Linked DNA regions of Homo sapiens: all the other regions are linked to region 2. The links are contacts of gene promoters, found by promoter capture Hi-C in blood cells and fetal thymus (Javierre and others, 2016). All regions are on one chromosome and are shown on one strand. Each heading gives the region's core, a stretch centred on a gene start or on the middle of the fragment in contact. The rest is flanking DNA. Distances are from core to core; before and after follow the strand shown.

Region 1 (3,093 bases), core at 97-2,596, 2.4 Mb after region 2:
GAGACATAATCAAATGCAATATGTGAGCCTTGAGTGGTAGTTCCTGGTTCAAGAAAGAAACATCTATAAAAAACGTTTTGGAATAATTGAAGATATCTGAATATGGACTGATTAATTCTTACTGAATTCATGTTAACCTATTAGGTATTTGACAATGGTATCATGGTTGCATAAGAAAATATCCTTATTCTTAAGTGATGCATGTTTTTAGGTCTGAAGTGTCATATCTGCACCTTATTTACAAATGGTTCAGCAAAACAGTAGAGAGAGAAAATAAATATAACAAAATAATTGGGAAATTTAGGCGAAGGAAATATGGATATTCCTTGAACTATTCTTTAACTTTTCTATGGGTCTGAAATTTTTTGTAACAAAATAGTTACTGGAATGTGGCAACAATAAAAGCAATTGTAATGCCCTCAATGATACTCTGTATTTACAATATAGCACTATATTCAAAAGCATGTATTAAAAAACCTAACCTGGGTGGTGTGGTGGTACACGCCTGTAATTCCAGCACTTTGGGAGCTGTGCAAGGATAATTAATATTCTATATGACTGCCACTATTTGACAAACACAAGAAAAACTATGAATATATAAATTCATTGCAGGCTACAATTTACCTCATGCTTTAACTGGCAATGTACTCTGACATGTATCTCTAAAATAATTATAACTCTTTACTCTTTCATTAAGTTAATTAGGTTAACTGTTATTTATTCCAGTATTGCTAGTTAGAAGAAATTTGATAGTTAAAAAAAAAAACAAAACAAAAAAAAAAAAACCGAAGTCTTACTATAACTTCCTTAAGGGATAAGCAATTTCACATCTTTACCTGGAAAACAAACATATCCAACCTTACTACAGAATTCTCTTAGTTGAGTTGAATTCTCTATTGCTGACTGATCTTCATTAGTTTGAAAATCTAGGCCTGGTGGCTCACACCTGTAATCCCAGCAGTTTGGGAAGCCGAGGTGGGCAGATCATGAGATCAGGAGTTTGAGACCAGCCTGGCCAATGTAGTGAAACTGTCTCTACTAAAAATACAAAAATTAGCCAGGTGTGGTAGCACATGCCTGTAGTCCCATTTATTCAGGAGGCTGAGGTGGGAGAATCGCTTGAGCCATTGCACTACAGCCTGGGTGACAGAGTGAGACTCCATTTCAAATAAAAAAAAGAAAGAAAGAAAATCTAATCACTGCTTCAAAAGTCTGCCTGTAGTTAAAAAACACATGTGATAATGTGAAATCTGTTGTGTTGTTAATGCAGATGAGATTTTTTTTTTTTTTTGAGATGAAGTCTTGCTCTGTTGCCCAGGCTGGAGTGCAGTGGTGTGATCTCGGCTCACTGCAACCTCCGCCTCCTGGGTTCAAGCAATTCTCCTGCCTCAGCCTCCCAAGTAGCTGGGATCACAGGTGCACACCACAACGCCTGGCTAATTTTTGTATTTTTAGTAGAGGCAGGGTTTTGCCATGTTGGCCGAGCTGGTCTTGAACTCCTGACCTCAGGTGATCCACCCGCCTTGGCCTACCAAAGTGCTAGGATTACAGGTGTATGCCACTGTGCCCAGCCTAGATGAGATTTAAAGGTGGACTAAAAGGATGTAATTTTCACTCAAGGGTAGAAATCTTTCTCCTTGGTACCTGTATTCTCAAAACTAAAAGTAAACATAAATTAATAACAGGTACAAGGATTAATTTTTTTCCCCCAAAAAATGATCCCTCAGGACAGGTGTGGTGGCTCACACCTGTAATCCCAGCTCTTTGGAAGGCAGGAAGACTGCTTCAGCCCAGGAGTTTGACGAAACCAGCGAGGGCAACACAGTGAGAGCCTGTCTCTAATAAAAATAAAAAATAATAAAAATCCCTCTTAGAAAAACTTCAATATTTTAGGTTTGATAGAACCTAGGTTGATTCTAATCATTTAAATACCTAGAAATTTTTTTGAAATTCCAGACTTCTAAGAGTACAAATTACCTTTTTATGGTATTAAAATTATGATGAGGTTTGAAACCTGCTGTTTTTAAGAAAACATATGCAGATTCTTATGGAATTACGGTGTATAAAACTCACCATTTGATGCTGATGAACACGGAGTCAACAAACTAAGCGGGGAAAAATGTTGTCTGTTAAAGTTAGCAGCTGCGGGTGCTCCTCCAAGGGGTGCCCCAGGTCCGTACATCTGACCTCCTGAAATGTTTGAAGCAAAGTTTCCCAAATGTGTTGAAGAAGGTGTTACAGAACCATATGGCGAGTCCATATTGACAATACCTATAATGTAGAAGGTCATCATAATTTATAATAGTTACTCCTGCAAGAAATAGAGATACCTTAAAATTCTAAAAGGCCCTAAATATATTCAAAACTATTTTAGATAATTAAAAAAATCCCGGCTGGGAGTGGTGGCCCACATCTGTAATCCCAGCACTTTGGGAGGCCAAGGTGGGAGGACTGCTTATGGCCAGGCATTCAAGACTGGTCTGGGCAACACATCGAGACCCCACCTCAAAAAAAAAAAAAAAAAGTTCCTGGCTGGGTGTGGTGGTTCATGCCTATAATCCCAGGCATGAATCTCACTTTGGGGGGCCAAAGTGAGAGGACTGCTTGAACCCAGAGTTCAAGGCCAGGATAGACTGCCTCTACAAAAAATTAAAAAAAAAAAAAAATTAGCCAAGTTTGGTGGTGCGTGTTTGTAGTTCCAGTTACTTGGGAGGCTGAGGTGGGAGGATTGCTTGAGCCCAGGAGGTTAAGGCTGCAATGAGCTGTGATGGCACCACTGCATGCCAGCCTGAGTGACAGAGTGAGACCCTGTCTCACACACACAAAAAACTAAACTATGTAGATAATTATAAAAGAAACAATTATCACATTATACTCTTAAATTCAAATTATAATTTACTGGGAACAAATTTAATTCTTGATTTTAGTACTTTCAGCACTAGTGGGCATTAATGTTTTAGTTAAAAAGGATCATTAGTTTTCCTTTACATGGGCTTTCTGTCAAAGTGGACTTTTGTTGCCTTTATTGATCATAAAATTAATGCAAACTTATTTAAAAAATCCAAAACCAAAAACCATATATAAAACAGAAAG
Region 2 (3,207 bases), core at 541-3,040:
TTAATATCTGCTAAATGACAAAATGTACTAAAATTTACATTAAAAAATAAATTCATGCTTACCATCAGAACATAACTTTTGCCCACAACTTTCTAATTTAATTTTATTTTCTAAAATCTTGTAAAAATTTCAAAATGTTTCGGACACCTTTAGGCACTTGGAAAATGTTTATTTCAAAGTATCACTTTTCTAACATTTTGCATTATTTTTATTAACCTAATGACACTATACTTTCTGAAAAGAAATTGTCACCATTGGCTGGGCGCGGTGACTCACGCCTGTAATCAATCCCAGCACTTTGGGAGGCCGAGGCGGGCGTATCACGAGGTCAGGAGATGGAGACCATCCTGGCCAACATGATGAAACCCCGTCTCTACTAAAAATACAAAAATTAGCTGGGAGTGGTGGCGCGTGCCTGTAATGCCAGCTACTCGGGAGGCTGAGGGAGGAGAATCACTTGAACCAGGGGGTCGGAGGTTGCAGTGGGCCGAGATTGCCACTGCACTCCAGCCTGGCAACAGAGCGAGCCTCCGTCTCAAAAAAAAAAAAAGAAAAAAAGAAAAAGAAAAAAGAAACAAAAAACAAAAGAAAAAGAAATTGTCACCATTAATTTTATTTTATTTATTTATTTATTTATTTTGAGACAGAGTCTCTGTCTGTCGCCCAGGCTAGAGTGCAGTGGTGCGATATCGGCTTACTGCCACCTCCGCCTCCCGGGTTCAAGTGATTCTCCTGCCTCAACCTCCCGAGTAGCTGGGATTACAGGTACCCGCCACCACGCCCCGCTAATTTTTTGTATTTGTAGTAGAGACTGGGTTTCCCCATGTTGGCCAGGCTGGTTTTGCACTCCTGACCTCAAGTGATCCACCCACTTCGGCCTCCCAAAGTGCTTAGGATTATGGGCATGAGCCACCGCGCCCAGCCATGTCACCATTAATTTTAGCAACGTATCAAAAGTTCAGCTTCCAACTACCTACATTAAAAGGTATAATAATACTAACCCTGAACCTTACATATGTAATGCCTAAAAACTTACACCCTGAATTACTCTAACATTACAGGGCAGACTTCCTTGAGAAGAGTCAGACCCTGCAGCGGGGCTCTGCCTTCCCACTGTCAGCCTCGGGGTCATCTAGCTTTATCGATCCCCATGGAGCGGGTCACCGAGCCCTGTGAGCAGGGAGAGGGCGATGGGGATGAGTAAACCCGAGCCGGAGGCCCGGCCTGCGCTCTCGCCCGGAAACCTCCCGTGGGATTCTGGAGTCCAGCGGCGCTGCCTGAGGCTGTGGTACCCAGAAATATGGTATTGGGGGTGGGGGTGAAATGAGAGGAAAGCAATCTGATTAACTTCCAGCCTGATAAGCAGAAAAGAGAAAACAAGGGAGCAGGAAAACTACGCTAGCACTAGACTGCCGGTCGCAAGCGCCGGGTACACACGCAGTTAAACCTCAATGGAACGCCCCCGGGACTTCTCCGGGGCGTAAAGCGCAGCGCCCTCTATTGGCCATCGGGACCTCGCCTGGAGGTGCCGTCAGGATTCCGTCCCCCAGCCACTCCCAGGCACTCGAGAGTAAGCGCATTAGCCCGAGAAAGCGTTCTGTGGAACGGAACTTCCTTATCCTATCGTTTCCACACGGAAAGATTTTAATTCACCGGAATCGACTGGCGTTAAAGGGCACAGTGAAAAGGAAGTTGGTATCAACGTGATCTCGACTAAGGGACCGAGCGGAAGTCCTCAATCGTACGCCACGCGGAGAGCATGCTGGGGGCCGGAAGGAAGAGGAAATTCCAGTAGCCGATCAGGAGTCTGCAAACTCCGGTGGTAGGGGAGCGCGCTGCTGTTTAGAGCCACGAGTTACCGGAGCGCCTGATTCCTGCGCCGAAGTCAGTGGTGGCCGAAAGTCCGGAGTCGCTGTAAAACCTGAGATTGTGAGCCATGGTGGGGAGATCCCGGCGGCGCGGAGCAGCTAAGTGGGCAGCTGTGCGAGCCAAGGCAGGTCCCACGCTCACCGACGAAAATGGAGATGATTTAGGATTGCCACCCTCACCAGGGGACACCAGCTACTACCAAGATCAGGTAGATGACTTTCATGAGGCACGATCCCGGGCCGCCTTAGCTAAGGGCTGGAATGAAGTACAGAGTGGAGACGAGGAGGATGGCGAGGAGGAGGAGGAGGAGGTGCTAGCCCTAGATATGGACGATGAGGACGACGAAGATGGAGGGAATGCGGGGGAGGAGGAGGAGGAGGAGAATGCCGATGATGATGGTGGGAGCTCCGTGCAAAGTGAAGCTGAGGCCTCTGTGGATCCCAGTTTGTCGTGGGGTCAGAGGAAAAAACTTTACTATGACACGGACTATGGTTCCAAGTCCCGAGGCCGGCAGAGTCAACAGGAGGCAGAGGAGGAGGAAAGAGAGGAGGAGGAGGAGGCACAGATCATTCAGCGGCGCCTAGCCCAAGCGCTGCAAGAGGATGATTTTGGTGTCGCCTGGGTTGAGGCCTTTGCAAAACCAGTGCCTCAGGTAGATGAGGCTGAGACACGGGTCGTGAAGGATTTGGCTAAAGTTTCAGTGAAAGAGAAGCTGAAAATGTTGCGAAAGGAATCACCAGAACTCTTGGAGCTGATAGAAGACCTGAAAGTCAAGTTGACAGAGGTTAAGGATGAGCTGGAGCCATTGTTAGAGTTGGTGGAACAAGGGATCATTCCACCCGGAAAAGGAAGCCAATACTTGAGGACCAAGTACAACCTCTACTTGAATTATTGCTCGAACATCAGTTTTTATTTGATCCTGAAAGCTAGGAGAGTCCCAGCACATGGACATCCTGTCATAGAAAGGCTTGTTACCTACCGAAATTTGATCAACAAGCTGTCCGTTGTGGATCAGAAGCTGTCCTCAGAAATTCGTCATCTGTTGACACTTAAGGATGATGCTGTAAAGAAAGAACTGATTCCAAAAGCAAAATCCACCAAGCCCAAACCAAAGTCTGTTTCAAAGACTTCTGCTGCTGCCTGTGCTGTTACAGATCTTTCTGATGATTCTGATTTTGATGAAAAAGCAAAACTGAAGTACTATAAAGAAATAGAAGACAGGCAAAAGCTAAAGAGAAAGAAAGAAGAAAATAGCACTGAAGAACAGGCTCTTGAAGATCAAAATGCAAAGAGAGCTATTACCTATCAAATTGCTAAAAATAGGGGACTTACTCCTAG
Region 3 (2,944 bases), core at 292-2,791, 3.0 Mb before region 2:
TTTTTGAGACAGGGTCTCTCTCTGTCACCCAGACTGGAGTGCAGTGGCACGATCTCGGCTCACTGCAGCCTCGATCTCTCTAGACTCAAGCGATCCTCTCATCTTAGCCTCCCGAGTAGCTGGGACTACAGGCGTGCATCACCTACGCCCAGCTAATTTTTTTGTATTTTGTAGAGACGCGGTTTCGCCATGTTGCCCAGGCTAGTCTAAGAACTCCTGAGCTCAAGCGACCCGCCTGCTTCGACCTCCCAAAGCGCTGGGATTGCAAGCGTTTGAGCCACTGCGCCCGGCCAAAGTTTTTTATTATCTACTTTCCTATCATTTTATCCCTAGTACACTTTCACTTGCTGTTTTCCTTGCATGGCGGGGGCAATAGGCCTGGTGGGTAAATCTGAATAAAAACGAGAACAGCTGCAGTCTAACTAGCTCTGCCACTTAATGGCGTGACTGGCCCTTTTCAGAAAGTTGTGCCTCACTGGAATGTTTCAAAAATATGTAAAAATAATATGATCTATAAGACAATCAAAAACGCTTCAAATAAGGCGCGGGTTATATTACATAATATCCCTCCACTCTGGCAGTGTTGGCAATGGCAGACAACACCATGAAACTGAAAGCATCCCTTCAGTCTGAAACTGGCGAAAAGGCTACAGGTTTACAAAGTCTCACATCAGCTGAAAATAATACATCCATCAATTCTATCTTTGGCATGGTGTATTCTGACAGTGGTGGATAGAATGTAACCACTTGCTTTATTAATTATGAGATGATTGAAAGAGGAACTACTAACCAAGAAATTGGTAAAGGCCTAGCACAAATATTTTCCCCCTAATTTTACAGGGGCGGGAAAGACCTGAAGAACTTCAAAACCAAGTGGGAAATAAGAATGGGTAACTTGTGTATTTTTTTTTCCTGGCTTTTTTTTTTTCCTTCTTCCGAAGTCAACAAAGGCCTCAGGGTGTCCAGATTGCTACTGATTCATTCTTACCAAGTTCCTTCTGGTAATAGTTTTCAAAAGAGGATCTCAGTGGAGGTGCACAGTGGCGCTCCTAGCTTTCTTTTTACGGAAAGGAGGAAAGGTGCTTGGCACCAGTCGGGGAAGCTCACGCCAAGTGACCGAGACCAGAACTCGCTCTCGACCGGAGCCCCCCAAGTCTGGTGACTTGGAGGAAGGAGGATCCCGAATCCCAGCCAGAACTGAGAAAGCCCTCAAAGGTGCGGAAAGGGGACTTTTCCCTCAGGAAAGCCGGCAACAGCAGAGGCCCTAGCCCACGTCGCCACACCCACTCCGCGCGCGCCCCTCGCCTCCCAGGGCCGGCTCTGCTCGGCCCCGCGGCCTCTCGGGCGCCCCCAGCCCGCCGGAAAGAAAGAAGCAGAAACCCGGAGCCTGGGTCCCACCCGCGACCCCTCACCTTCGCCCTTCTCGTCCTCTCACCTGCCAGTCCCCCAGGAAGAACAGGACGCCTCTTCCCCCTGATGGGCGGCCACAGGCTCGGATCCTTCCATTGCCGCCTGAGACACCGCCGCCGGCTACTGGAAGGTAGGAAGGGGCGGGACCGTGGGGGGGTCAAGGGGCGGGCGGAGACGTCATCAGAGGGGGCGGGCCTGGGGAAGCTAGGAGCCCGGCAGCGCCTTCCCGTCAACCCTAGGGGCGTCCTGGTTTCCGGTTTGGGTGTGGCCGCATGGCGTGCTGTGGTGCAGGTGGCCGAAGGGGGCGTTACTGTTGCGACTGGCATCCGCATCCGGCAGATGTAGATGGAACCAAAGTCCAGAAGTTACGCGTCACCCTTGCTCTACAGCCAAACATGCAGGACTCTAGTAACCCGCGAAATGATGGGATAGCGTTGCAAATCCTTAAAAGAGTCTTAACGGTAAGAAGAGGAAACAGCTTTATTTTATAAATAAACTGAAGGCTGCTAATAGCTCCAGATTGTCAGTGAGGGGATACCACTTAAAGATGTTATACATTTAATAAATAATTTTGGGAGTCCACTACATGTGAGGCGCTGCCTCAGATTTAATAGAATCATGTGACTTTTAGTGCCATAGATGTCGTTAGATCATCCAGTTTGGTCCCTTAAATTTGTGGGTAAGGGAAAGGAACTTCCGGTCAGTGCAAGTGACTTGGTCAAGGTTATAGAGCTAGTCACTGTTAGATTACCAGAACACATATCTAAAAAGTTCTCATATAATTCTTTTTCATTTACTTCCGTGTCACCTTTCTTAGAAAGCAAAAATGAGTTGGACACAATAACATTAGGATTTGTCTTTCACTAAATAACACTGTATATTTGAATAAACATCTGCAGGATTTTTAAAATTAGCATATACTTTGGGTATTATGTAATTTTCTGTGATGTATCATATTTTTAATTAGAAATTTTTCCTCTCATATGGAGATGAGGGTCCAGGCAAAACTGTATTATCCTTCGTGCCCTCTATTCTCTTCAAAATTGCACATCTTAAAATACCTGGAAGCTTTATGTTGCTCACCTATAGCATTATCCGTGTTCCTCAATCCAGTTGTGAACCTTTTCCACATTAAAATGTTCTTGATCTGTGTTCTATTCTTTCAAGGCTCTGCTCTAGCACTAAGATAATGCTACAGGACTGAAGATAATGAAAAAGATTGAAGAAAGCAGAAACAGAACAAAAATCAGATTATTTCAAAGTTTCTTTCCTTGTAAAGGTTAAAACAGAGCATACTTCCTTATTATGCCCACTAGGTTAACTAGAATCTCCTGTTTTTTTAAAAAAAACTGGCTCATTTTTTCAAAATCCACTTTAATTACATGGTGCTTAGCACAAGCAACTCCATTCTGGTTTGATCTGATGGGGCCTAGTGTAGAAGGCTAGGCCAAAACAATGGCCTGCCATTACCCACGCTTCTTCATATTTTAACATCCATGAATAGAGGATGAATTTTTAAAAAATAAATACAGAA
Region 4 (2,981 bases), core at 129-2,628, 2.5 Mb after region 2:
TATATACCACAACCTATAACATCAAGTACAGATGAAGCTGGACATCCTGGCTTTAGATGACAAAAGAATAAGAACGGGTATGAGAGTTATTATTACACTTAACAATATAAACATTTTTATTTTCATAAAATTTCCTACTTTCTTAAAGCAAAAATATATCAAATACTATACCCAGAACAATCTGAACTTAATCAAAATTAAAGGATGGAAATATCTGTGAAGATTTCTTATTACTAAGACTCCTAAAACTGGCTCAATTATAAATAATAACACTAAATATACAGTAACCAAGTTTCTGAAATGATCTCTCAGTTGTTTCATGTTTTCATATAAAAAAGCCAACATATAAACCACAGGTTTATATACACAGCCCTTGGCCATGTAAATTTGGGATATAAAATTGGAAGACATTTTTCCTCTTATTGATCATTCTAAGTAGTACAATCTATTGTTACACATAATTTTACAGGAAGGTCATCAAAATTCTAAAATTATAATCATGTCTCAGGAAAACATAAACAGAACAAGAAAAGAGGTATTTATATGAGCTGTCAGCCCTTTTTCTGCCATCTGTATATGGCTACTTTCCTGAGTATTAGTTCCTTTTACAGAAGGTAGGCAGAAGGAACGGAAATACTTTGATGCCTTTGGTTTGGAGAAGAAAATTACTGCCTGGATTATTTGAATAAATGAAATAGCCAAGACACTCTATTTAATCCCTTACCTTGGACTGTTGAAAAGCAATGATGTAAGTTGAAATCCACCTTTTCTAATTTTATTATACATTTTAGAGAGTATTTTACTTAAGATTTTAAAGGTCTAAATAGTCAACTTAAATATATGTGGGCATATATAATCAGTAATCACAGTTTAAAAGGTAAGCCATAGTATTATGAGAAATCATTTGTGTTATGTTCACTAATGATATTGACTTTTGTTAACTAATATTCAATAAGAGTACCTTTAAGAAGTTTATGATTCAAAAGATCAAGTTACAAAGACAGGAAAAAAAGAGTCTAATATTTATTCAATGCAAATAAGCATAATCTACATAAAATTCCGTATGTTCAATAAATAAAATCACAAAGGTGAAAATTACGGTAATGAACTTCAAGTAGCTCAATATTAAGTACAATAATAAAACTGTCACTGTGGTATACAGATGAACTTCATTATCCATTACTGGACATTTATTCAAGGAGTTATCCCTGTGGGGGGTAGAGGGCTAGGGAATATATTTTTCTGGAAAGCTCATTATGTAATAAATATCTGTTTACTTGCAATATGAGGTGCTTTAGAAAATGGTACATTTATCTGCAAAGTTAGCAAATTTATTCTTTGCACTCTGTATTTTTAGCACTGTGTCATTATGAGTACTTATAACTTTGGATAAGGCTCTTTTATTACTACTTAGAAAATGTTACCAAGATTGACAAATATTTAAGTCAAATGATATTTTAAATAAAGAGAAAAAGCTACTTATTTAGTATGATAGGATGCAACAGGTACATAGAAACTAAATTAAGATAAATTGAGAATTAGGAAAACTAAAATTGCAGAGGTTGTTTTAATAACTAGCAACATTGAATAAATAAGGTAACATGAAATCTTAACATGGTATTAAACAATTGAGATAATAAAAAGCCAGTTGTTCAGGTAGCATTAAAAAAACCTATGCATAAAGCACAAAACAGTGCTCAAGTAGGATTTCCTCAGAACATAAATAAGACTTCTAAAATCTGTTATATGCTGAAGTTTTAAATGGCTAAGAAAAATTGTCAAATAGATTTATCAAAATCTCCAAAGCACACTTCTTTAAAATCCAAACCAAAAAATTTTAAAAGCAAATTAAAATGTAACACTAGAACTCTGTAATCTAATTAGGCTTATTTAAACTGAACCACTAAAAAGTCATGTGGCCACTTGTAATTACTAAACTCCTTTGATGAAAGTTTATACTACTATTTCTAAGTAGATAATTTTACCACACATTTTTAAGGAAACTCACTAATAGAAACAAAGTAAAAAATAAAAGAGAAAAGAATAAAAATTAACCACAATTCAACTTAGACCTAACAGCTTTTAGGAAAGGGGAAAAGAGCACATTGGCAGGTGTCTGCAAGGAGGTAGGTAATAAATGGAATCAGTTTTCATTCTGCAGAACAACCATGAGACTTGCTGCAATGTCAGCTCCAAGCACACACTGAGGGACTCCAGAAAATACTCATTGATCATGCAGCACTTTATAATGCGCATAGGCTTTTTTCTCCTGCTAACCCCGCCTAGCTTCCCTTTGCAGCTTCTTCTCCCAAGCCCTCTCCCCACAGTAAAATAATCTTCCTGAAGATGTGAAATAGTTAATAAATTATCTCAACAGTCTAAGTATTAGGAATACCACTCACCACCATAAAGCCTCTTTATCTGAATTACCCAGGTTTTATCTAATGAGGAAAAAAAAGAAAAACCCTACACAATCCCACAGATAAGAATATGAGATTTAAATACCTATACCTATAAATACAAATTTCTAATAGTATACTACATTCAATGCCAAAAGCAATTATAGTTTCACTTTGACATGTATTTCCTTGGACTGATTTATACTCAAATAGGATCTTATAAAATTTTTACAACCAGAAAAGAGAAAATATAATTTAAAATGTTCATGATTCAAATTATAGTAATTTTGTATTGATGTCTCTCTAGCATCAGTGCCCTAAATTTCAGGGTTTTAATATTTTTAATTTAATAATTTGTTTTATAATAATCAAAGTCACATGAAAAATCTAGGACCAGAGTATACCAGCTAAATTAAGCAATCAGATTGATATAAACATGCTTAGTTTAAAGCTAAAATAACCGTTTTTAATAGTTAACTGCAGCAAAGCTTTAGGCTTAGATATGTAAATGAATTCTAAGACATATGATACTAAACCTTACTCAAAGCTGCTTTGCAGACCCCACCTTCTAATGAGTTAATC
Region 5 (3,046 bases), core at 302-2,801, 2.6 Mb after region 2:
TAACTAGTAAAGCTAACTCTCAGTTGGTTGTCAGTATGGTATGTTTTACTGAGCCTTTGGGTTGTAAGGGCTTCTGTGAGGAATAAGGTCCTGCAACGCCGCCTGTCTGTGGACCCAGGAAAAATTATAAAGTTATTATGAAACCAGATCACTAGGACAAACCGAGAGGCCTTCCTATTCCAACTCACCACAACCAGGCCTGGCTCCAAAGCCTACCCTTTGGCTGTCCCATATTACGGGACAACAGGTCCTAGCTTAATTCTAACTCACTAAGGAAACATTCGAAGGCATGTATGTATGTACGTGTAAGGATCAAATATATTTTTCATCCACTTACAAATGTATATGGTCATTTGTAATTATTTAAAGTTACTGATAAATTTATACAAATACAGCATCAGTTCATCGAAAATCCCTGGGAGATCGAGGAAATGAAGTTACTTCAGCAGCCAGGATAGTTACGAAAAACCCTGCAGAACAGTATGGAAAAGTACAGCTTCTCACGTGTCCCTCACATACACAAACACTTAGCTCTGAGTCCATTACAACCTTACGTCCCCCCTCAAACTGCTCCCCTCCACCTCACAACTGGGAGAAGTTGATCAACCTCCTAGTTGGTCCCCAAGAGACTCATTTACCCATTATTTTACTCCTCCCGCTTTGATCCCGATCCCGCCTCAGACTAAGGTGGCCCTACTGGCCCCAGGCAGACCACCCCCCCACCCCCCGGCGTGCAAACAGGGAATCTAACCAATTCCCTCCATCCTTAACCAAGTGAGCCATCCCATGATAACAGGCTGTTCACCAACTCTGTGAACTCCGTGGTCCTCCCACCCCCACGTGTCAGCTACCCTCCCCCACATTCCCACACCTCACGATTTAGGCCGAGGGAAGAAAGGGGGCAGTCGAAAGCCTGGCCCCTAAGAGATCAACCCACTGGAATCTGTCCCACTCCAAATCCCCTCCCACCTTCGGCCCCTATCCCTTACAGTCCCTTCCTCCCTCCTTCCTTTGAAACCAGGCCCTTGCCTCAGAAACCTCCTCTTCCTCGTCGTCGTCGTCCTCTTCTTCCTCGCTGTTGTTACTGCTGGTGCCGCCGCCGCCACCTCCGCCTCCACCGCCGCCTCCACCGCCGCCGCTGTTGTCGCTGTCGCTGCTGCTTTCGCTGCTGCTGGGGGGTCGGCAAGTCCGGTTACGCTTGGCCTTGTGGTGCTGCTGCTGCGGCGGCTTCTTCTTCAGGAGCAGGTCGCAGACTCGCACCATCCCACGAGGAGACGAGGCCGAGCGAGCTCTGCTGCTGCCGCCAACGCCGCCGCCGACCTCCGCCGCCGCGGGGGGGCCCGCCACAGCCGCCACCGCCGGGGGGCTCCCTTCTCCTTCTGCAGCCGTCGCCGCCGCCACCGGAACCGTCGCCTTCTCCATCCCCAGGGAAAGAGGGAGGGCGCGGACGGGGGAGGGGCGTGGGGCTACGCTCTACCGCGACTTCGGCCGCACTGGGGCCGACACAGCAATCGGTGCCGCCTCCGCCGCCACCGCCTCGGTCACCTCTACTGCCGCCGCCGCCGCCGCCGCTCCGCCAGCTCTCACCTCGTCTCGCGATACTAAGGGCGGGGAGCCTGACGATGGGAGGGAGGGAGGGAGGGAGAGGGAGGGAGCAAGGGAAGGAGGGTGAGGCGTAACAGGGAGACCGGGTGTCGGGAGAACCAGAGGAGAGGAGACTGGAAAGAAGCGGGGAAGTGTGCCTGGGGCAGCTTCCGAAGGGGAACGGCGGGGACAGATGAGGGGGGCGCGATTGCAACCAGAGCGCCCGCGAGCTCCCGGATTTCTTCTCTTTCCTCGCTATTTCCCGCACACACAGCCCTGCAGCCCTCCCTTCTTCCTTCCTGGCTTGTGATTAGAACGCAGCCGCAGGCGGAAGTGCAGTGACGCCATCAGCCGTCGCCTGAGCCGTGGCGCGCGGGTGGCCGAAAGGCGAAAGTGAGATTTCAAGGGCCGGGTCTGGGGCCCCGCGGGCGCGCAGTGCTGCGGCGTGTGGGGAGTACGGGGAGGCTGGAGAGGAGCCGGCCCCGGGCAGTGTGAGGTGCGGAAGCGCGGTCCAGACACTTTGCTGACGGGAGGCCGGTCCGCCAGATCCGGGAGGTGGGGCCTCGTTCTGGACTGCTGTACGTAGTTTTATTCCTGGTCATTTTTTTCCACCGCCAAATCGAGAGATAGAGCTTTGGATCATGAGAGATGGCGTCGTGTTGGGAAAAGAGCCTTCTTTACCTGAGTTTAAGCTCGGCTCATAGACATCCTCTACCTGAGTTTACACGTGTGTAATATGAAGGCAGTCGATTAGGAGATGTCTAAGATCATTACTTACACCTCAAGTTTCCAAGGGGAGGAAGACACGGGAAGGATGCGTGGTCTGTGCCAGACTTTGTAGACGATTCACTGAATGACCCTGATTTAGCTCTTCCGGCCCTCTTCGATTCAGCTTGGAAGCAAGCATAAATAGTGATTGTTGTCTGTATACTTCTCTCGGAAGGAATGCTGTTATGGGAGTTGTGGGTTCATTTTTAGGTGTCTGAAGAAGTTTCAGGACTTTTGAAATGATAGTGGAGCCCATTGAACTCAGAATTATCCCTTTCTGGTCTAGTAGGAGTATAGTGGCATACGGAAAATGAAGCAAACATCAAAGACAGATGTACTGGCACAAGATTAAAAGTATGTCTCAGCTGACATAGTTGCCATTTTAAGACTGCTTAGTTTAGCTGAATATGCCTGGATTTTTTTTTTTTTTAGCATTTTTTTTCTTTTTAGCATTGGCATACCATATGAAATGTGGGCAGTTGCCAGTACTCTACAGAGTACCAAGGCAGAATTGGCAATGACTAAATCAATTCATTCAAACAAAAATTCATCATGTGCCTACTGTGCGCATAATTTGTGGAATCAAAGTCTCTTGTTTCCAGGGGCTTTACAGTGTAATAAGTGCTATAGTAAATATATATACGGAGTGGTAACCATCTGCCTATTCCTCTCCTACAGTCGTTGCTGAGTTCCA
Region 6 (2,813 bases), core at 43-2,542, 2.4 Mb before region 2:
TTTTACAGATGAGGAAAACTAAGAGTTGTATTAAGAAATTAACCCAAAGTCACAGAGTTGGGAAGAAAAAGAAATATATCTGAACCCAAGCGGACTTTGCACTACTAATTACTACCATAATACACTATTACAGTTCTCAAGCCTGTACTATTAACACAAATGAGCTTTTAGTCTTTAGTTTGAAAGACAGCATACAATTATTTATCATCAAAAATCTGTATTTTAAGTCTTTTTGAGATGGAGTCTCCCTCTGTTGCCCAGGCTGGAGTGCAGTGGCGCAATCTCGGCTCACTGTAACCTCTGCCTCCTGGGTTGAAGCAATTCTCCTGCCTCAGCCTCCCCGAGTAGCTGGGAGTACAGGCACACGCCACCACACCCAGCTAATGTTTTTTGTATTTTTAGTAGAGACAAGGTTTCAGTTTCACCGTGTTGGCCAGGCTGGTCTCGAACTCTTCACCTCAGGTGATCTAGCCGCCTCAGCCTCCCAAAGTGCTGGGACTGCAGGTGTGAGCCACGGCGCCTGGCCAGTTTAAGTCTCTTTAATGAGTAACTGTAACAATCATATTCCGAGTAAGCACCTGAAATACTAGAACTGCAAATTAAGTTATGTAACTTATAAAAATAGAATAATACAAACCATTCCTTGCCAAGGTGGTGGTGGTCCCATGTTATGAAATTCCCTCACATAATCATTGTAGGACTAAAATAAAAGATGATAATGTCAATATAATTAAAAATTATCACAGAACTGCAAAATAAATCAGAGCCTGATTTTATCCACATTAAATAGATAAAATGAAATGCTTACCCCATTTAAAAACACATCTCGGCGAACTCCTGAAAATCGTCTGTTGGGAATAAGATTTGTGAAACTAAATTCAGGTAATTCATAAACTAGTTCCAAGAATGTAATTCAAAACTAGGCAAGAGTGAACCCGACTTACCTGTCCACTTCCTGGTATCGTGGATCCTTTAAATACCCTGTTCAAACATCAAGCATTTTAGTAAATCAAATTTATATTTTTCTTTTATGGCATTATAATTAAACCTTCCTTACCACTCGTTTCAATTCTTTCCATGAAATATGTACTTTAAGTGATGCTACTACTGTATTATCCCATTTTCAAATTTTCTTCTCAGATTACATGATAATCTAGGAAATAACTAATGATATCATAGAATTGTAAACTGCTAGAGAAGCTTTCAGATAGGTATCTTCTATGTTCACACTCCAAATCTTGCTAATCAGAAAATTTCTTCCTTCTGCTTCACAGGGAAGGTAAGGGCAGAGGAACTATCTTGAGCACACTATGACAGGACTTCCTTAAAACAAATGTTTACTTTCCACCTTGGGTATATGTAGGTCTTACCAAGAAAACCACAGATAAGCTTTTTAAAATGTAAACTTAAGGGGGAGGGGGAAAAAATTGCAAAAGTTGCAAAAATGAAGATGTATACACTGAAAATGAAAAATCGATGGTGGTTAGAAAAATATTCTTTCCCCTGCTTCTTTTAATAAGAACCCAACAAATTAAAATGTAAAAACATTTGAGTAGTCATGTTACTGGGGAAAAACTATTTTCACTTTCTACAACAGGACAACCTATTTTGGAAGAATGAGGCTAATCAAGCCACTTGTTACATAATAGTGCTATAATGATCACTAACATCAATCTCCTAACTGCCTAAGTTTCACAAGTGTATCACTGACTCTCTTCAAATACATGATATCCCTTCTTGAATATAGTTTGCTCTCTTAAATTTCAGTAAGGGATAGATTAATTGAAAAGCTACATTTAGATTACATACCGAGTATTTCCCATTCCTCTCCAAAGACATAAAGATTTTTATTTAAAAAAAGTAGCATTGTATGTATATGTATCACATGAAACACTAACTACCATAGGGAACAAAAAGCCTGATAGAATATAAGGTTATTGCTTTTCATAACTACTTTTAACCTTAAACACATGTGCAGATAAGTTTCCATTTTTGCAAAATTAGCAATTTCAGGTAATTCATAGGGTATGATGAGTTACACTGGAATAGACTAGACAACCTTAACGAAGTTAAGGGAAGAATTACACTAATGAGAACTACTAAAATTTCTCAAGATTTAAGTAGTCAGGTCCTGAATTTTTTTCACTTTTAAAACTGCAGGATTGTGAGGGTTGTTTTTAATTTTTTAATTTTTTTCCAATAATTTGAAATCAAATATCTGCAGGATTATAAAATATTAACCTGGTCTCTGGTGAAACTCAGGGGGATAGTCAATCCTTGGTTTCTTTCTGCTGTTATGAATATCATAATCTTCTGGTCGACGCCTACACAAATTAGACACATTAGAAATTAAACCAAAAACTGCTGGGAGAACAAAGAGTAAAGCAAGAGTTTCTGACAGAGATAAGTACAAAGAATAACCCATTATTTAACATCTTAATTTTTTTAGTGAGCAAATTATTTTAAAATTCCTACATTTTGATTCTCAAATTAATTCCTATAAACCAAACTTTAAATGTACTGCTGGAAGTAGATATTCTCTGCCAACTCATGCTATGATGAGAAAATTGCAGACTAGTCCAATCAAAACATGTAAGTCACATTTTAGTAGTCTAAACAAAAGTAAACAAAGTCATTCTCAAACTAAATATCAGTTTTAACAATTAAAACACTTTCCCAAATAAAGTCTCCATTCAGATGAAAAATAAAAACTAGAAAAACCTATCATCATTGTACAATATGTAACTCTAAAATCTGCATATTTAAAACTTATAAATGTCATTTTAGGTTAAGTCTAAACAAAATTAAGAATT
Region 7 (2,773 bases), core at 102-2,601, 2.4 Mb before region 2:
AATAACCTACTATATAATGACAGCTATTTAAAAAGCTTTAACTACTTATCTCCTTTAATTCTCATAACAAGTTCACAAGATATTCTCATTACAGATGAAGAAACCTTGAATTAGACAGGCAGTTAGGCAACTAGACTAGGGTCCCACAGTTCCTGGATGGCAGAACCTAGACTCAAGGGCAGGTCCTCTGGCTTGAGCAAGTAGAAAGGATGTTTTATACTATTTTTGAAAGGTGATTACAGGTTTAACTAGTTTTGGGGGCTTTTTTCATTATTTCTTTCAAAAGTTCTGACATGTTTCTTCTAATTTTTCCCCCATGGATATTTCTTTCAGTAGTCTAAGCATTATGAATGCATCTGACTGAGTGTAATTTATCTCTTGTTGCTGTTAAAAAAGAATTATTTCATGGTCCAAAGTACTAAAAAGGGCCTGGTGCAGTTGCTCGTGCCTGTAATCCCAGCACTTTGGGAGGTCGAGGCAGGCGGATCACTTGACCTCAGGAGTTCGAGACCAGCCTGGGCAACATAGCAAGACCCTCTTTATATAAAGACAAAAACAATAATTAAAAAGTTACTAAAAAGATCTGAGATAATGCAGGGAAAATAACAGAAGCAGAAGATCCTACTCAATTGTTTTTATATAATGCTAAACCTAGCATTAGCATGAGAAATCTCCAAGGAATTTTCATCATTTTTGTATGAATAACTCCCAATGCTCTTAAGTTTATGGCCCTCTCCCCCAACTATTACTCTCAGGTCAAAAGAACAATGAAAATCATCTAATAAATAAACTGTTATCAATCAGTCTGTTGCTTTTATAAAGTTACCAAAAATTCTGAGAATAAGGTAAAATGAACTGGAATCTAGAAAATTCATGACAGAGAAACTCAACTGTGATCACTTTTATTTAAAAACTGACGTCTCTTAATCAAGAAGTTCCAAAATCACCCCATTACTCTTTCATAAACTATTGTATAAAAAAAAATTTCCTGCATATTAATATAGTACCTAAAGCATGTTCCACATAAGGGATTTTCCTTTATAAGGAAAATAAAACTTTCAGGTATCTCTTTTAGAATAAACCTAGTCTAGTAACAGAGTTTTGATATCAAGATTTATTATAAAACTACAGTTACCATTTAATTTGAAATGTCTTCTCCACAAAAACAAAGTGTGTCAATCAAGTTACCTTACTATGGTATCATCTAGGAGCCTGTTACAAATGCAATTTCTGGTCCTACCCATTTAAGTAAGTTCCCTTTGTTTAATGTAAACAATACAAACATTAAAGTCTAAGAAATAACAGAGATACCAAAAAGAAGATTCCTACAACAAAACGTTCCCTACCCAAGGGAGTGGTTTCATACATTCTCCACAATAAATGAACATTCAACACATACTGCTAATGAAATATTTATTATCTTAAATTATAAAAAATATATCCTATCAGTTTGTAAAAGGCATGATGGAAGCATAAAGATTTCATATGTTTTTACAACAAATCCAACTACTCATCTATTCTGTTTAACTCTACCTCCCTTGAAAAGCCTATCTTAACTCCCAAACCTAGAATTCTAGTGAACAAAAGGTTGAAAGCACTTCAGTTGCCAATCACTAGAAAATAACTGGCCATCTGCTCTACCTATACTGTATGTAGTATAGATATATACTATCCATATAGTATAAATATATAGTATAAAATATATAGTATAGATATATACTATCTGTATATAGTATAGGTAGAGCAGATGGCCAGTTATCTTCTAGTGATTGGCAACTGAAGTACTTTTCTATACTATATATACTATATATATAAAACAATGTACTATTATAAATGATCAAATTCTATAATAAACTGTAAATGTATTTCAAAAAAATAGGAATTTTCTTATGTTTAGTACATTTTGCTTATGTAGCAATCTGGTAGCATCTTTACATAAGACAGTCATGAGATTATAATCATCATATAGTGCTCTGTAAGTACCCTGACCTCTCCTTGCTGTACCCTCCCCCAAGAAAAGTTCCCCTAAGCCTAGTGCCTCCAACTACGTAACAGTCATACATTTTTGTCTCATAGGTATAGAGAGGCAGGATATATATAGCATTGAAGAAATGACTGAAGATGGTTCTTACCTGATTTTTCCACAAGAATTTTATTTATAGTCTTCATCTCCATCTTATACCTTACACCCCAGCCCTCTTGTCGACCCTGTCTCAGCCAGTCAACTGACAGACACAAAATTAGAAGAAAAGTCTGTGCTCCCAGAGATAAAAAAGAAATAATCTGTTTTGATTCTGAAGCCATATGATGGAAATCTAGGGGTATTTTACCAAGGAAATACTGTAATACCCAGTGGACAGGTTTCCTATGAATATACTTCAAGTACATCAGTGTTTAAATAAACTGCTGACTGGTATGAAAATCTAAGAATTTACAGAAATCTGAAATACATTTCCTTATACAGAATCAAATGGACTTGTGTTCATTTACAACACAACCATTCTGTAGCTAGGAAATGCCTTTCCTAAAATATGTAAATCTTATCCAAGATTATTCAAATGTATTTATAACATTCAAAAGCATATAAAGGATCACAAGACAATCCTATTAATATCCCCCATCTCCTCAACAATTTTATAATTTAAACATTTTCAAGACTGAAACCTATCAAGCTTTTTTTAAGACAAACTTTTACATATAAAAAGTAGTACCTGATCCATCTGTGCCTGAACCAGATCTGACAGACCCATCTGTGAAGGAAACAGATTCAGAA

What was found. The method cuts DNA at HindIII sites, captures the fragments that hold promoters and counts their contacts. A CHiCAGO score of 5 or more calls a contact.
Region 1: a contact is called between a fragment that was not itself captured here and the fragment with the promoter of UTP3 in region 2, in 1 of 17 cell types (total CD4 T cells). The highest score is 6.3, in total CD4 T cells.
Region 3: the fragment with the promoter of UBA6 here is called in contact with the fragment with the promoter of UTP3 in region 2 in 4 of 17 cell types (non-activated CD4 T cells, total CD4 T cells, activated CD4 T cells and 1 more); the score reaches 15.6 in non-activated CD4 T cells.
Region 4: a fragment that was not itself captured here is called in contact with the fragment with the promoter of UTP3 in region 2 in 6 of 17 cell types (total CD4 T cells, naive CD4 T cells, naive CD8 T cells and 3 more); the score reaches 9.6 in total CD4 T cells.
Region 5: the fragment with the promoter of ANKRD17 here is called in contact with the fragment with the promoter of UTP3 in region 2 in 3 of 17 cell types (non-activated CD4 T cells, naive CD8 T cells and total CD4 T cells); the score reaches 7.8 in non-activated CD4 T cells.
Region 6: a contact is called between a fragment that was not itself captured here and the fragment with the promoter of UTP3 in region 2, in 2 of 17 cell types (activated CD4 T cells and total B cells). The highest score is 7.9, in activated CD4 T cells.
Region 7: a fragment that was not itself captured here is called in contact with the fragment with the promoter of UTP3 in region 2 in 1 of 17 cell types (non-activated CD4 T cells); the score reaches 7.1 in non-activated CD4 T cells.

What each region holds. Positions count from the first base shown.
Region 1 is chr4:73,083,176-73,086,268 of GRCh38, forward strand. ANKRD17 (ankyrin repeat domain 17) reads right to left here. Exons shown (of 34, transcript NM_032217.5): 30 at 2,074-2,271. Among named protein-coding and RNA genes, the nearest start is that of COX18, 15 kb to the left of the region's middle. The HindIII fragment of the contact is 7,936 bases long and covers 1-3,093 here.
Region 2 is chr4:70,686,742-70,689,948 of GRCh38, forward strand. UTP3 (UTP3 small subunit processome component) reads left to right here and starts at 1,791. Exons shown (of 1, transcript NM_020368.3): 1 at 1,791-3,207. The coding sequence starts at 1,937. It overlaps LOC101927297 (a long non-coding RNA gene), which reads left to right. Exons shown (of 4, transcript XR_938860.3): 4 at 1-75. RefSeq lists enhancers at 716-1,686, 1,067-1,156, 1,687-2,655, 1,857-1,916. The HindIII fragment of the contact is 6,672 bases long and covers 1-3,207 here.
Region 3 is chr4:67,699,614-67,702,557 of GRCh38, forward strand. It overlaps UBA6 (ubiquitin like modifier activating enzyme 6), which reads right to left and starts at 1,542. Exons shown (of 33, transcript NM_018227.6): 1 at 1,436-1,542. The coding sequence starts at 1,506. UBA6-DT (UBA6 divergent transcript) reads left to right here and starts at 1,665. Exons shown (of 2, transcript NR_015439.1): 1 at 1,665-1,871. RefSeq lists silencers at 1,266-1,435, 1,566-1,635. The HindIII fragment of the contact is 4,018 bases long and covers 1-2,476 here.
Region 4 is chr4:73,219,693-73,222,673 of GRCh38, forward strand. All of the region lies in intron 1 of ANKRD17 (ankyrin repeat domain 17), which reads right to left. Among named protein-coding and RNA genes, the nearest start is that of ANKRD17, 38 kb to the right of the region's middle. The HindIII fragment of the contact is 3,013 bases long and covers 1-2,885 here.
Region 5 is chr4:73,257,247-73,260,292 of GRCh38, forward strand. ANKRD17 (ankyrin repeat domain 17) reads right to left here and starts at 1,552. Exons shown (of 34, transcript NM_032217.5): 1 at 1,030-1,552. The coding sequence starts at 1,422. It overlaps ANKRD17-DT (ANKRD17 divergent transcript), which reads left to right and starts at 1,920. Exons shown (of 5, transcript NR_187399.1): 1 at 1,920-2,162. RefSeq lists a silencer at 1,244-1,643 and enhancers at 1,605-2,201, 1,804-2,073. The HindIII fragment of the contact is 8,436 bases long and covers 1-3,046 here.
Region 6 is chr4:68,317,882-68,320,694 of GRCh38, forward strand. It overlaps YTHDC1 (YTH N6-methyladenosine RNA binding protein C1), which reads right to left. Exons shown (of 17, transcript NM_001031732.4): 12 at 2,242-2,324; 13 at 945-981; 14 at 809-848; 15 at 638-700. Among named protein-coding and RNA genes, the nearest start is that of YTHDC1, 31 kb to the right of the region's middle. The HindIII fragment of the contact is 189 bases long and covers 1,199-1,387 here.
Region 7 is chr4:68,334,316-68,337,088 of GRCh38, forward strand. It overlaps YTHDC1 (YTH N6-methyladenosine RNA binding protein C1), which reads right to left. Exons shown (of 17, transcript NM_001031732.4): 4 at 2,712-2,773. Among named protein-coding and RNA genes, the nearest start is that of YTHDC1, 14 kb to the right of the region's middle. The HindIII fragment of the contact is 2,637 bases long and covers 34-2,670 here.